Linked DNA regions of Homo sapiens: regions 2, 3 and 4 are each linked to region 1. Evidence: promoter capture Hi-C in 16 types of primary human blood cells and fetal thymus (Javierre and others, 2016). All regions are on one chromosome and are shown on one strand. The core of a region is centred on a gene start or on the middle of the fragment in contact, and the rest is flanking DNA. Distances in the headings are between cores, read along the strand shown. Region 1 holds the start of DIO2-AS1 (DIO2 antisense RNA 1). Region 2 overlaps NRXN3 (neurexin 3). Region 3 overlaps NRXN3 (neurexin 3). Region 4 overlaps NRXN3 (neurexin 3).

Region 1 (3,645 bases), core at 738-3,237:
CCACATGGAAAAAATACGCAATACGCTAACCACAAGCTTGCACCTACTGCTTAGCTTATGCCTAAGCTCTGGCTACATAGAAAACTCAGCTATCTATTACCCAGTATCTAAAACTCAGTATCTATCACTGAGAAAACTCAGTGATCTATTAGGTAACACAGGATGAAAAAGTAGAATAAAGTGGGGGTCATGCCATTCTGCCAAAGCATTGTCTGCCTAAATACCTGTCCTAAAGACTCATGGGAGAGGCAAGCCAATGAACAATGGTCAATGTGGCACCTTGAACCAATTCAGTCGGCTCTTAACTTCCCATACATTTAATTAAAATTTTTTTCAAACAAAAAGGAAGATTCCTTAAAGTATCAGGTCTCTTAGGGGTTATGCTAACAGAAGCAGGTGAAACACCAAATTTAAAGAGCTTTCATTAATAATTTCTCAGCCTTATGGCTTCTTAATGCTATTCAATGGAAAGTTTTAATTTTATCTGCAAAATGAAGCTAAAAGAATGTCGCCTAGCTCCTTCCCTGTCTGGAGGAACTTGGATTTTTTTTTTTTTTTTCATTAGAAGCTTGGGTAAAACTAAAAAGAAACCTGTATTCAAGTTTCTGCAAGAAGCTTTAAAGAAATGCTGGGATGGTACTCAAATAGTTTACAAGTTTTCCACCTACAACTCATTTTGCATTTTCTTAAATAAGATAATGACTCAAAAAAATTTAAAGGACCTAGGTCACAGATCTTACAAAGGGTTGGAGTCATGGTATAAAGGTATAAAGATTGTATATAAATGTTCATATTTTCCAAGAAACAGAGCAAAGACCGCCTGTGATAACTCTTCCTTTTTTCTACCTGCCTTCCAGGATCCTTTCTTTCCAAAACCCCTCATAAATTAATGATAATGATAATCAGAAGAGAGAGTGTTGGCCATATCAATCTGCACATTATATTAAATTACTTTTCCCAAAGTTTGGAAGCATTTCCTGAAGGCTGTCAAGGGTATTAGTTTTTTTCTCTCTTTAAATCACAAAGCAAAATTCCACTGTCTCTCCCCAACCCCTTCTAAAAAAAAAAAGTTGTCGAGTTTTGCTTTTCTATTCACTGCAATCCTGGCCAAAGTAAAGCCCTCTTTCTCAATGACGTCAAGATCTTTACCAAGATTAGGCTTTCACTTCTCTATTGCAGCAATTAGCCAGGGAATGTATAAAAGGCGTCAGGGAGACTCACTGGGCTGCAGAGAGAGGCACTTTGCACCACAGACAGATAGCAAGAAGGGAAAGACAGAGAGTGAGAAAAAAGAGGAGTCAGTCGCTCCTGGGGAAGGGAGAGAGTGAGACTGGGAGAAAGAGAAGCACAGAAAGTGTGTGTAAAACGGAGTAAAGAAAGAAAAAAAAAAAACTACCCTTAAAGCACATTTAAAAAAAAAAAAAACTCTGGCAATTCAAGAAAGAAACAGGCTACGTTTAAAGAGCATAGAGACAATGAAAGGCTAAAGAAAATTTTAAAATCTCTGCCACAGTCTCATAGGTGCTTGGAAATGAAAGTAGAACTGCCTGTCTTTAACGGACTCTGACAGAGGTAACTGGATTAGGGACGAGTACGCCAGCTTTTTTTTTTTTTTTTTTTTTTTTTTTTTAACATCTTAAATCCTGAAAAAAAAAAAAAAAAAAAAAAAAAGGCAGCAGCTCCGAATTGAATGAATTGATGGGCACACTCCAACTGCTGGGCTGGAGAGACTGGACTTAGTCTTGCCATTTCTGCTTCTTTGAAAGAGGAGACAACTTGGGCTTCCTTTTAATTTAGTTTTTTTTCCCCTTCTCCCCCAACCCCCAACCTTCCCCCTTACCTCCCCCACCCCCTTTATCACCACCCCCCTTTTAAATAAGAGGGTGAAGGGGAACCAGAGCGCACAAGGGAACTGACTCAGGAGGCAGAGAAGATGGGCATCCTCAGCGTAGACTTGCTGATCACACTGCAAATTCTGCCAGTTTTTTTCTCCAACTGCCTCTTCCTGGCTCTCTATGACTCGGTCATTCTGCTCAAGCACGTGGTGCTGCTGTTGAGCCGCTCCAAGTCCACTCGCGGAGAGTGGCGGCGCATGCTGACCTCAGAGGGACTGCGCTGCGTCTGGAAGAGCTTCCTCCTCGATGCCTACAAACAGGTGAGCTGAGCTGAGAAGGGCTTCTCCCTAGGTCTACAGGGGCAGGGGCTCATATGCTGGGGACCAGAGGCCATTGGGAGCATTGGGGGGAGAGCTGTGAAGCCCTATTTGTGGGGTTGCCAAGTGAGCCTCTAAGTTTACTTTCCACACCTGTTGCACAGGTTAGCTTGGGAGGGTGACAGCTATTAAGCCATAATGACTCTGTGTGACCTAATAAGGAATCTTTCTACTAAGGGTTATTAATATCTTGCTGTGATTTGGGAGTAGAAGGCATTGTGCTGGTACGATAACTTGGGAAAAGTCAGAAAATGATGGAGAAGAGGAGACTGCTGCATTTATTCTGCTCTTGCCATAAACTGGAATTTTGATTTTTTGCTTGATGGGAGGCTGAGGTACACTGAGGAAGTATGTTCGAGGGGTGGGTACTGAAAAGCAAGAAATGAGAAATGCTACTCAGAACTCTCAGAGAGTTGACAAGATAAGAAAGTGGTCATAGAAATTGTGATTGGGCATCATAGCTGCTTGGTTTCTGGTAGAGGTAAGAGTTAATGAAAGCAAGCAGCTGTGTGCCACCTCCTCTACATTGATTCAAATTTGAACCCTTTGGAAGCGATTTTCAGGCAGTGATCCTGAGTTACTAGATATCAACTTGCGAAAGAAAAGTCTGAAAACTAGCTGTCAGAAATCCAGCATTTGTAAGGGAAGCCTCCTTTACTTTGTTTCTCAAAAATAAAATACGTTGCCCTAGAAAGAGATGATGGGTCTGTGATTCATTAAATCTCAGAGCTGTTATGAGCATTAGAGCAGTGGTCTCCCTTACCTGCTCAGGTAGTGCCCAGGGGCTGCTCTCTCAAAATCAGAGGTAGTGATCTTAGTTTCTAAGTGAAAAATACTGTGTTCCAGGCTTTTTGCTGGTGAGAGATGTTAGTAGAGCATTTTCAACTAAGATCTTCAGGGGCACAGAGGATGATTTTCGCCCTGGTCTTTTGTCAGTTTTCCCCCACCTGCTATGCCCATATGACTTCTAAAGGTCCCCTCCACCCCCTCAACCAGGCTTGAGAAGAATGAACTATTTTGGCAAAAGTAGTTATCAAAATAGACAATCTTGGTTTCCCTAAAAGTGTTGTGGGACCTTGCCCAAGATGCCAGAAAAAGCAACTGTACATCTGTATTTTAGAGGAATATAGAAGCCAGGTGTTCAGTGAAGTGGTGTGTTTTAGGCAGGCAGCACCTTAGAACCAGAGACGGGGAACTCGAAATAATAGAGACGCAAGGGAATGCATCCTCCATAAATAAACACTAGAAAACTAAAACCATGCGCCAAGAAAAGAGAAGAAGTAACTTGTAAAATTACAAAGAATTCAGGACAGGATTGTTCTTCTGAAAATCAGATGTTCAAGAAGAAAATATCTGTTGTGAACTAGGGAAATTTTACCACAATGCACGTCTTTATTATTGATAGTAACCCAAAGAGGGTTTGTGTTTATTGT
Region 2 (3,645 bases), core at 681-3,180, 1.3 Mb after region 1:
TGGAACACTAGCACTTATTTTTTCTATCTAGCTGTAATTTTGTGTCTTTTATCAAATCTCTCTGTGTCTCCCATTTTCCCCCTCCTGTTTTCAGCCTCTAGTATCCTCTGTTCTACGTTTTATTTCTATGAGATCAATTTTTCTCTTCCTTTCTCTACGTTCCTGGTACTACTCCCCCATTATGATATATTTGGCAAATTTTTAGGTCCCAACCCTACTTGAATAAATCATTTCAAATACTTCAAGGAACTTTTTTATTTCTGTTTTTCCAAATCTTTCATGTCTGACATATGGGCTCCAGATATTCTTCAGCTCTGAAACACTCATTGTGGCTCCCAAAGCTGAAAGTAGAGGCTCAGTGTTAAGACAGGAAGAGTTAAGAGTCAGAGACAGGGCTTCTGAAGGTTATAGGTGAGCCTAGGGTGAATCAAGAACAGGACTTTAGAAGGTTGGTAAGAAGCAGGTTGGTAGAGAGAAAGAAAGTGAAGTACTTGGCAGGTTTGAAGGATGTATGATGAATCCATACTTGAAGGGAAGAACTCTGTGGTCTATATTCTGTTAGGGTAACTCTTCTTATGTTGGCTCCAGAGCCCACACTCTGAGCTACTGTGCCACATTGGCTCCCCATCACACTTTCCATTAAGACGACCTATCATCTCCAATCCAACATTGGTCTACTGTGGCTAGCACACAATCTCACAGTTCTCTCTACTCTCTGGCCTAGAAGCAAGTTTTTTCAGATTTTCCAAGATTCTAAATGGTGCCTCCTCTCTACACCCCTTTTGCTGATGGTGGTGCTTTTTAAATATGAGCACTGAAATAGGGTCCTTGCCACTTCAGGGCTAACTCGACAATCCCAAAGATGGCACAGGGGTGCTAGAGAACAGCTATGGGAGACCAGCGGGGATAATGACGCATAAAGTCATTGTTACACTTTGTACTGGAGCTTAATATTTAATCCCCAGAATACTGGGAAGTAAGCATTTTTATCCCATTTTACAGATGACAGCAGTAAGAAACAGGGATGTTAAGTTATCTCAGCCAAGGGTAAATAGCTACTAAGTAGATGCAAAGCCAAGCTTATCTGGGTTTATATAAAACTGCCTTCTGGATGGATGATGAATGTGTGAGTGATGGGTAGAACTTCAGATCAGACCTCCATAACCAATGGTGCTTCTGAGGGAGCAGATGTGAAGGTTTGCGGAAAACAAAGGGGTAGAGGAACTAGAAATGCTTCTTGGAACTGATACTTAGACTGGGTGAGAATGGGGGTGGCTGGGTGAGGCAGCAGGGGAATTTTGAGAAGCACCACGGGTAAGGAAAGGTGAATCCCTGCCAGCCCTAGATCATGCCACTGGAGGAGGGGACATTTGTATATGGAGGTAGTTGATTATACAGTGAGCTTATATTGACTGGGATAAGCTTGTAATGTCTGTGAGAACTTAATATCCCCCAGTTAGATGCAGCGTAGATCATCCTGGTCTCAATAACCTGACTTTCTACTTCTCATTGATTTTAAGGTGATGCTGGCTATGAACTCCACGAGGCCAGTGATTGTGCCTATTTTTTTCAGAATCTAGTCCAAGGCCTAGACATGGTAGTTACTTGACATGCATTTATATGAATGTATTTAAATGCAGCTTATGGACATTGAAATTCAAAGTGTGAATTGACTGCCATCCCCTAACACAGAAACAGGGAGAAAATGTGGTTATGTGCTTATTACAACTAATTATCCTGCTTGAGGCTACATATGCTCCTACTGAATCATAATCCTAGCTACCATTTATGCAGGGTTGTGAACTGATCCAGCTCTCTTGGGACCAGTGGAAGACAAGTTCTAATTCACAGCTTGATACACATTAGGTGCCCAACAGATCAGCACTACTTGCTGCTATTAATAATTTACAAAAACATATTTAAGTGATTTATAAAAAAATCTAGTAATGGGAGTACACGGTAGTTGGGGGAAAACGTTCAAGGGAAGAAATAAGAGAAAAATATCCCATCTAAACTGAATTTGTAAATGACAATTATAAAAATCATTCTATTCAAGGAACAAATATCTGCCAACTTGTTGTACAATAACATTTATTTGTTATTACTCATTAACTCAACAACTCATCAAATATTTACTGCTTATTTATAACACACTGGACATTGACTAGTGGCTGGAGATAAAAGGAGAAATATATTTTGATCCCTGGATCAAAGTTACTTACAGTCTAATGGAGTAGAGAGTGATATAAAAATGTAATACAATGTTTTAAGTGCTTTAATACTACTATGAGTTCTTTGCATTATACCTAAGGAACACAGGGAAAGAGAGAAGCTATTGGGAGTGTGTGTGTGCATATATACATGCACATTTGGGTCTGAGTTTGGGGTTAAGAAGATAGTGGTGTTCAAGTAATACTTGTTAGAGAAAGCAAAGCTTATGCTTTTTAATGAATGTGCAGAACTAGTGCTCCAGGTAGACAAGAGATTTTAAAAACTGCCACGTATAGAGATTAAGAGAGCATGCAAGTTCAGCAAATGTCGAGTACTTCCGTGTCGTAGGGTAGTGGAGGGCATTTTTATGAGAGGTAGGAAATGAGTCTAAAGATGTAGCCAGGAGGAGATTTTAAGAACCTGCTTACAAGAACCTGCTGTACTGAAAACTTTGTGTTTTATCTCCTAGATCAAAAAGAACTCTTAAAATATCTTAAACAGGCTGCAACGTGTGTTTGCTGCATTATTTAAGATTATTCGATTTTGTCATAGCAAGCAACAAAAAGTTGGATGGAACTTATAGAATGGATTAAAGCGTAGGGAGCAAATTGATAATCTCTGAGAGCTGTGAGACATAGAGAAAATAAAAAGAGCACGTGTGTGCTGAACAAAGATAAAAAGGATGAAATAAGAGAGTTACTTCCCCATAGAAAGGGATGAAAGTACAGAGTAAACCTTAAATATTTATGAAGCTCAGACAATCTCTGTTGACTCCTTCATCCCTAAACTGGTCAACCCATTGGTGACATCCATTTTGGTCCCATTCTGGCCCCACATTTGCTCTGGTTGATACATAGAGATAAAACATATATCTAGTCACCAGGCTAATTGGCAAGTGATAGCTATGGCCAGATATACTTGCCCTTGTGTCTCCCCAGGAGGGCAATGGTGTAACAGGACCAGTGTTTCCCAGCTGTTGTATCCCTTTCTTAATCTCAACTCTGGTTCTTGTAACTACTTCATCAGCAGGGAAGACTAATATGGCAGAGAGGGAACCAAGGTAGATGAACATTGTGTAACCAAGGATTGAGATATGGTAGTCTTTCTATCCCACTTGCACACTCTCCTGTGTTTATTGAACCAATCACTTTCCCCTTGATTTATGCTTAAAGTGTACCTTAAATTGATTTAATAAACAATTTATAATTTCACATCTTAGCTTGGTCTAGGAGGCTTTTTGTTCCATGACCTCTGGGGCAGCCCACTTGAATGTACCTGGAGTGTCAAGGTGATTTTCTACATGCTGCTGGGAATGACAGGGTCAGATTATTGCCTTAGAAAAATCACTCTGGGCCGGGCGCGGTGGCTCACGCCTGTAATCCCAGCACTTTGGGAGGCCGAGGCGGGCGGATCACGAGGTCAGGAGATCGAGAC
Region 3 (3,645 bases), core at 827-3,326, 1.2 Mb after region 1:
ACCATCTCAAAAATTTATTCATCATAGATGGAGTAAAGATTAACAATATTGTCAACAAAGCAAGCATTTATTGAGTGCTTTTTATGTGCTTGTTACCAATAATATGCTGAGGGATATACAGACATGCCATCAAAACTTCTCACGACCTATACAGAAACTAACAATTATTATCCTCATTTTGCAAAGAAAAGTAAATGTAAGCTGAACAAGGCTAAGACAGTTTACTGATGACACCAGACATTAAATGATTCAGCTGAAATTCCAAAGCCTATATTCCTTCCTCTGTATTACGGCCCTTCCCACACTTTGACACTCATCCTGTCATCTCTCAGCCCCCACAGCATGACATTCCCGAGGTTATCAGAGAAAATGAACCATTTCTTGATGAGTAGTCTAAGTAAAAACGGAAAAAATTGCATTACAGGATAATTCAACATTGTTAAAACAGGATATGGATGATGTATCAAAAATGCATGGCACTCTGAACCTGTGGTTTGCCTCTGGAAATAGTCTATCTATTGTAAGAAAAGCTCTATTAAAAACTAAATTTCTTTACAAGGTTTACCTTTCAAATCCAGATTTTTGGCACCATTGATAACCTGAGTGACCACTTTGGTGTCCACTTTCAGGCTATGAGTGTTACTATTGTCCCGAGTGATGACGACATTGTGCCACTGGTTGTCATTCAGGGGGCGGTCACTGTTGCCTTTGATCACATTGGGACCGTTTCCGAGGTCAAAAACGTAGTGTATATACCTAGGAAGAAAAAAAAAAAAAAACAATAATTGGAAAATCCCCGAAGTGGTTTAATGGCTATATGTGTGTAACTGACATAGTGGGCTTCAAATCCCCCATGCTAAACTGGCATAATGCAGGAATAATTTAAATCTTGATATGAGGTTACAAGAATAGTCAGATTTTATTCTATCATGCTTCACTATAATTCCATACTCATCGAGTCCACTTCATTAACACTACCTACTAATACTCTCCAGAGTCAAAGTAGCACAGGTTGTACACTACAAAACATAAGGGGGTGACTTTTAAATTCATCATCAACCATTAATCTGTTTTGGTTTTTGTTTTGGTTTTTTGTTTTGACTATTTTCTAATACATGGTAGTAAAATGTCTTGAGGAAAGGGCAGCTTCTAAAAACTTGCATATATGGGCTAATGGTAGGATTTAAAATATTTATGTTTCATCTTTTGGTATAAATTGGGTGGTTGTAGTTAGTAATACTCAAGAATTAGATGCAATACAAATCATAGCCCTCTTTTGCAAAAATAAGCTTTTCTTCAATAGTTTTAAAGGGCTACATTTCATAGGAAAAAGTCTGTTAGTGTTGAGTTAGTGGAAGACCTTTAAATTAAATCATGAGCCTCTCTCCTTTCCAGACCTAATAATTTTATGGATCCATTTAATCAAGGAAGATGCGAGAATGTGTCAGGAATGGAGGGTAGGGAGTAGAATAGACAAGTTATTTTTATGTCCATATTTTACGTAGAGCTTCAGTAGATTAAAGGTGTCCAACATAAGTCGTGATCCCTTCTACTTACCCCTTGACAAGCTCGACTGCAATGAAGTCATTGCCATCACCACTATTGAAGAGAATGAAGCCATCTGGTGAGGTGGTCTTGAACTGGAAGAAGAGGTGCATGGAGGTGTAAGCCTGAAGAGTGGCAAGGCTCAGGTAGCTGCTCTTGGTCTTAAAGGTGACAGGGTCAGCGATGATGTTCCTCAGTCCAAAACGAGCCTTCAGCTCACAATAATCAATGTCACCATTTTTGCACAAGTCAATGTAGAGAAGGCCATTAAACATGAGGCTCTGCAGATGGCCAATAAAGCTGGAGGGGACAACGGAGATGTAGCGTTTCTCAGTCATGATTCCCGTTTCAATGTTGTGGAACTCCAAACGGGTATGGTCTCCCACCATTGTACCTGTGAAAATTGTAAATGAGGTACAAACAGAAAAGTTACCATCATTTATCACAGCACCCTCAAGTATATTTTTTGGGTGTAACCTGTTTCCACACAGAATATTCAGCTTTCTTGGGTGAGTTCAAGAAAACCAAATATTCAATATGGTAGATACCTTACTTGGCCTCAATCAGGCATTGCCCAAATTACATGCTGTCACGCAGCTGCTCAGCACGGCTCATCATATAAGGGGAAATATGAGGTCATGAGTAACCCAGGCTAAAGGATAAAACTATTGATATTCTCCATTCAGGAGAATCACTGGACACTAATACACACTATAAGAAGAAAGGCCTTTGTTGCTCTGACCCTTGTAAAGACACAACACACAAGTCTTGGGCATCACTACCAAGTATTTTTTCTCGTAATAACTCTCCACTTAGTACTCGTGGGAAGGATTCTATTATAGACTTATCAGTTGAGTTTACCTGCCCAGCAACTGTTACTTTATCTTATAATAACACGTAATTTTTCTTTAGGAAGCTACCCACCCCTCTTGACCTTTCAACCACCTGGACTGGATAAAGTTGACCCTAATCAAGCTACTCAGCCTAGACCACTCAATGTACTTTACCCCCCTAACTGTCACAGACTTTGGACTACAGACTTAAAAAGCGGTCATTACACTTTAGGGTGTATCAGAATCACCTGGGGGGCTTAGGCCCTCAGAGTTTAGAATTCAAAAGTCTGGGGTGAGGCCTGAGAATCTGCATTTCTAACAAGTTTCACAGTGATGCTCTTGTGGCTGATTTAGGGACCACCCTTAGAACTGGCAACAACCCAAGCCATCCCGGCCACACTCAGTTCCAGAGCTCTTGCTGGTACACTTAGGAAAGAGGATTCTTTGCAAGCAAGGACTGCTGGAGGGGTAAGAAGAAAGCTTTGAGTCCCTAGAGGCTATAAGAAAATCAGAGGGATCAGAGGACTAGCAACCCAGAAGACAATTACCAAATGAAGAGAATCATCTGTGCTGTCCTTTGAGACTCTGGATCAAGCCAGGCACCTCCCGGCTTTTTCAAACTGTGTGGCAATAGACTCCCTTTCATGCTTAAAGCGTTTGAGTTGGGTTTCTGACATTCACAACGGAAATATCTTCAGCTGTTACAAATGAACTATTTAGAACTTGTATTACCTATTTTACCTAGAAGTGGTGAGTGACTAGGGCAGAGGGGATAAGGAGGGCTTGAAAAAAAAATACAAAGAGACTGGAAATTTTAATAACAAAATAAAGAAAAACATCATTAATGTGGCCAGAGTAGAAATTGGCTTCCTCAACATTTATATAGAAAAATCATGTTAAAACATAACAAACCATGTTCTACTGCCAAGCATTAGAGGGGGAATTCTTTCTTCCTGTCCTCTCTTGTTACCTTCTACATTGAAAAAACTCCATTAGCAAGACTGATAGCATCTCTTTATTTCCTCTTTAACAACTTTCCTGAAGAAGTGACATAATCAGAAATATTAAGGATGATCTGCAAAGAGAAGCTGTGTATGCTTAGCTCAGCCCCTAACACCTCCTGTTTCTCTTTGCTGGAGCAAGCTGCCTTCAGAAATGTCCATTCTACTGCATGCATCCATAGAATGGGTGTTACAGGAGCAAGCCTTGCTTCCACAAAGGATGTCTGCCCAGTTCTGAACTACTATTCAAGTGGGCAGTTCTGTCT
Region 4 (3,645 bases), core at 496-2,995, 1.2 Mb after region 1:
TTTTGTTTGTTTGTTTGGTTGGTTGATTGCTTTCTATTGCCTTTAAAAAAAAAAAGTTCATGACTTTTTTTTTTCAGAGACAATTCTAGGTATGTAACATGGCTGAACTGTCCCTAACATCACTACACATGAGGCTTCTCTTCAATACTAAAAGTTGACAGAAACGACAACCCTCATCATCAACTGCAATCAACAATGCAGCGAAGTGGAGCTACGTGTTTTAATGTGCATGCCATGAACAAAAGGGTTAGAATACAGAGCAGGTGTACGTATTGTAGATGCTTGGTTAATTCTCACTCTGAATTTAAACAAAACCACCAAAATATTTGATACACCTGATGTCTTTGCCACATGAACTTCTTTGACACAAATTCTGTAAGTTTACACAATAAAAGTATCCAAAGTTTCTTCTGTTACGTGAGTGTGTTGGGGGGTGGGAGTGGTTATCTACACACTCTAAACATTCAGAACATGTCCTTTTAAAAAAGAAATGCTGCACATATATCAAATTGACGCAGAAAATAACAGTTTTGAATACCTCAAGCATTTCAGTTTAGCAGTAGTGAGTTTGAGCAAGAATCAGAGCCCTGTAGTACTTCATTTAGCTAGAAGTCTGGAGATGGGGCACAGTAGCAGAACTTAGCTGATGGAATTTTATCTACATCAGGGAAAAAATGAACTTGGAATGAACTTGTTCCTAGCCACACACAACCAAGTTTATTAAAATTATAATCAATCAGGGAGACCATAACAGTTCATTCCACTGGAAATCATAGAATAAATATGATATTATATTATTAAGCTATTCTAGCCATTTTTAATGGTCACATTTTTTAATGGATAGAATAATATGTGCTGTCTGGATAATAGAAAAAGAGGCTCTAATATAAGTGGATTATTTTAACTTAAAAACATCTTTAATTGTAAAAACAAAAAAAAAGCTAAGGCTATAAAGGAATAATAATCAAATCTTATAAAGTTAAAAATGGAGTAAATTTCTTAAATGTTTGCCATTTCACCAGTTCTTTGACTACTATACTTTGACTACTATAATTGGCTGTGCCCATGTGTATGTAGCAGCTTATATTCTATTTTTAAAGTTGAGGCTAACCCTAAAATTACCAGTACTGACACTTTAGTTCATGCTTTTGGGGTTTTTGTTTGTTTGTTTGTTTGTTTGTTTTTTGCCATTTACCACACCTATTTTCAAGAGCCTCCTAATAGCTTTCTTGATTTTGCTCATTCTTCCCCAAAATATTCATTGAATCTGCACTATATATCAGACATTGCACTAGGGTCTGTTTATGCAGCCACGTGTTGTCTGCTCTCAGAAAGGCTTACAATCTTCTCTCAACAAAGCTTACTATTTTCTCTCAACCTGCTTCTCACACTCTGCCAGGAGGAATCTTTCTAAGGCATATCTTTGGGCATATCACACACTTGCTCAAAAACTCCCAGTGGCTCATTTCCTGCAAATCCTATGTAGGTTTGATACAGAGACCGGGAATATAAAAATAAACGAGGCATTGTACCTACCCTGTAGAACTCACAGTTGACAATGAGCCAGAAAAATTAACAAATATGTGTAAGATCAGTGCTACAATGATGAAATATTTAGTGAAAGAAAGGAAAGAGAGTAAGAAACCCACTCGTTTTTTTTGAGGACCGACACTGTTCTAAGAAATGTACAAGTAAAATAATCACATAGTCCTGGTTCAAATTAGAAAAAAAAAGTCACACACAGGTAAACATGTATAAACATGTAAACACCACACAAATATTCAGTACAAGGCCCATTGAACATATCTAGATGAACAAGGTAAGGAAGGTAAGCCCAAATCAATAAAGTTTAGGGCACGTTGGGGAAGAGAGTTTTCCCACAGGTGCATGGGTTTATGAAAGTGAGTCCCAGACTTAAATGGAATGTTATGTTTGGAGAAAAGTCCCAAAATGTCTTAATTGCCAGGGAGGTTTGAGATGTTTAAACATAAAAATGCATTTTGACACAAAGAAATATGAAGAAAGACTCTCATCAGATAACTTCTACTGAGTAAGTACTAACTACCAACGTAGAAAATGAGATATTATTGAGTAGAAAAGAAAATGGTCACAATTTAGGGACAAAGCTTAGATGGCCACAAAAAAGAACATACTGAGGGCATTGCTAAGGTAAGAGGATATGGATTTACAGGAAGTAATTGCCAAGTACATGACTTTTTCTAGCTGTAAGGCAGGGGCCAAGAAACCGAGCAAGGGAATGTCTTTGGAATTTGGATAGTGTATCAAGTCATGAGGCAAGAGCTCCTGCGTATTAGTGGGAATACCATTTGTATTCTAGACTAGAAACTCCAACTGCCACATGGAGGCTAGTGAAACATTTGAGATTATTGACACAGAAAGTAGTGTCAGGAGGTTTAAGGTATGGGAGAACTGAAAACTTAGGAAGCAGTACCAGCAATAGAAACTCCCTTTGCTACGTGGCCAGGTATTTGAGGAAATCAGGTTATTAGGAAAAAATACAACATGAAAACTTAAGTCACCAAGGACAATGCAAAGGATGGAGTGAGAAGAAGGCTACAAGGGAAGAACTCAGAGTATTTTTTACATCCTGAAGGTCAATAAATGCTAATGATGAGGACGGGGCGACAGCATATAAAAAATACGTGACCTTAAAAGAAGAAACATCACTGAAGAATGATTGTAGAATCAAGGTCTGACTCCAGGAATTTAAAACATTAGGAAAAAAGCATCCTTCACTAAAGGAGACTTCCAAGAGATGCTCTCTCAATGCAGCATGTCCAGATTTTAGTTAAGGCACAGATGTTGAAGTTGTAAGGGAGTTTGTTCATGTTAGGAAAACATATACCATCAAACAACAGTGTGCCCCACTGTTGGTAATTACTTGTTCATTCCTGGTCGGCTACTTATTTAGCATGAAATATTTGTCATCAGAAATTACAAACACTATTGGCTGGGTGGAGTAGCTCACACCTGTAATCCCAGCACTTTGGGAGGCCAAGGCAGGCACATCACTTGCATCCAAGAGTTTGAGACCTGCCTGGGCAATATGGTGAAACTCATCTCTACCAAAAATGCCAAAGTAGCTGGACATGGTGGCATGTGCCTGTAGTCCCAGCTACTCGGGAGGCTGAGGTGAGAGGATCACTTGAGCCCAGGAGGTGGAGTTTGCAGTGAGCCGAGATCAAGCCACTGCATGATAAAGTGAGATACAGTCTAAAAAAAAAGAAAGAAAGAAATTATCAACACTATTTATATGAACACCATGCAAAGGCTCAGAAGTAAATGAATCACATTTTACTCAAATTAATAAATTAACTATAAAAGAAAAATCATTCCTGTGTGAGGACCCTTGGCAATCAGTTTAAATCTTTATTATCTACATATTCTAACTAAATTCTTAAGATGTGTTTGTTCTCAGAAACACCTAGAGTATGAAAGTGCAAATTCCCTACATAATTATTCTCAGAAGTGCCAGTTTTTAAGATAGCTAAATTTTCTTTTTTGAATTCTTTCTCCACCAACCCCCTTCTGGCATGTCAAGCAATCACACTTATCACATTTCATTTCCTTCAATACTATCAGCTTCACGGGTTTCACAGAGCCCACAGGATTCTGCTCATTGGA

The links. The method cuts DNA at HindIII sites, captures the fragments that hold promoters and counts their contacts. A CHiCAGO score of 5 or more calls a contact.
Region 2: a fragment that was not itself captured here is called in contact with the fragment with the promoter of DIO2-AS1 in region 1 in 1 of 17 cell types (endothelial precursors); the score reaches 7.2 in endothelial precursors.
Region 3: a contact is called between a fragment that was not itself captured here and the fragment with the promoter of DIO2-AS1 in region 1, in 1 of 17 cell types (endothelial precursors). The highest score is 8.4, in endothelial precursors.
Region 4: a contact is called between a fragment that was not itself captured here and the fragment with the promoter of DIO2-AS1 in region 1, in 1 of 17 cell types (endothelial precursors). The highest score is 6.1, in endothelial precursors.

The regions. Positions count from the first base shown.
Region 1 is chr14:80,209,761-80,213,405 of GRCh38, reverse strand. It overlaps DIO2-AS1 (DIO2 antisense RNA 1), which reads right to left and starts at 1,987. Exons shown (of 9, transcript NR_038355.1): 1 at 1,918-1,987. It overlaps DIO2 (iodothyronine deiodinase 2), which reads left to right and starts at 1,902. Exons shown (of 2, transcript NM_013989.5): 1 at 1,902-2,155. The coding sequence starts at 1,934. The HindIII fragment of the contact is 6,513 bases long and covers 618-3,645 here.
Region 2 is chr14:78,939,062-78,942,706 of GRCh38, reverse strand. The region is part of intron 10 of NRXN3 (neurexin 3); the gene reads right to left. Among named protein-coding and RNA genes, the nearest start is that of NRXN3-AS1, 130 kb to the left of the region's middle. The HindIII fragment of the contact is 1,012 bases long and covers 1,425-2,436 here.
Region 3 is chr14:78,964,319-78,967,963 of GRCh38, reverse strand. It overlaps NRXN3 (neurexin 3), which reads right to left. Exons shown (of 21, transcript NM_001330195.2): 12 at 1,558-1,939; 13 at 566-756. Among named protein-coding and RNA genes, the nearest start is that of NRXN3-AS1, 110 kb to the left of the region's middle. The HindIII fragment of the contact is 1,569 bases long and covers 1,292-2,860 here.
Region 4 is chr14:79,003,868-79,007,512 of GRCh38, reverse strand. The region is part of intron 15 of NRXN3 (neurexin 3); the gene reads right to left. Among named protein-coding and RNA genes, the nearest start is that of NRXN3-AS1, 70 kb to the left of the region's middle. The HindIII fragment of the contact is 767 bases long and covers 1,362-2,128 here.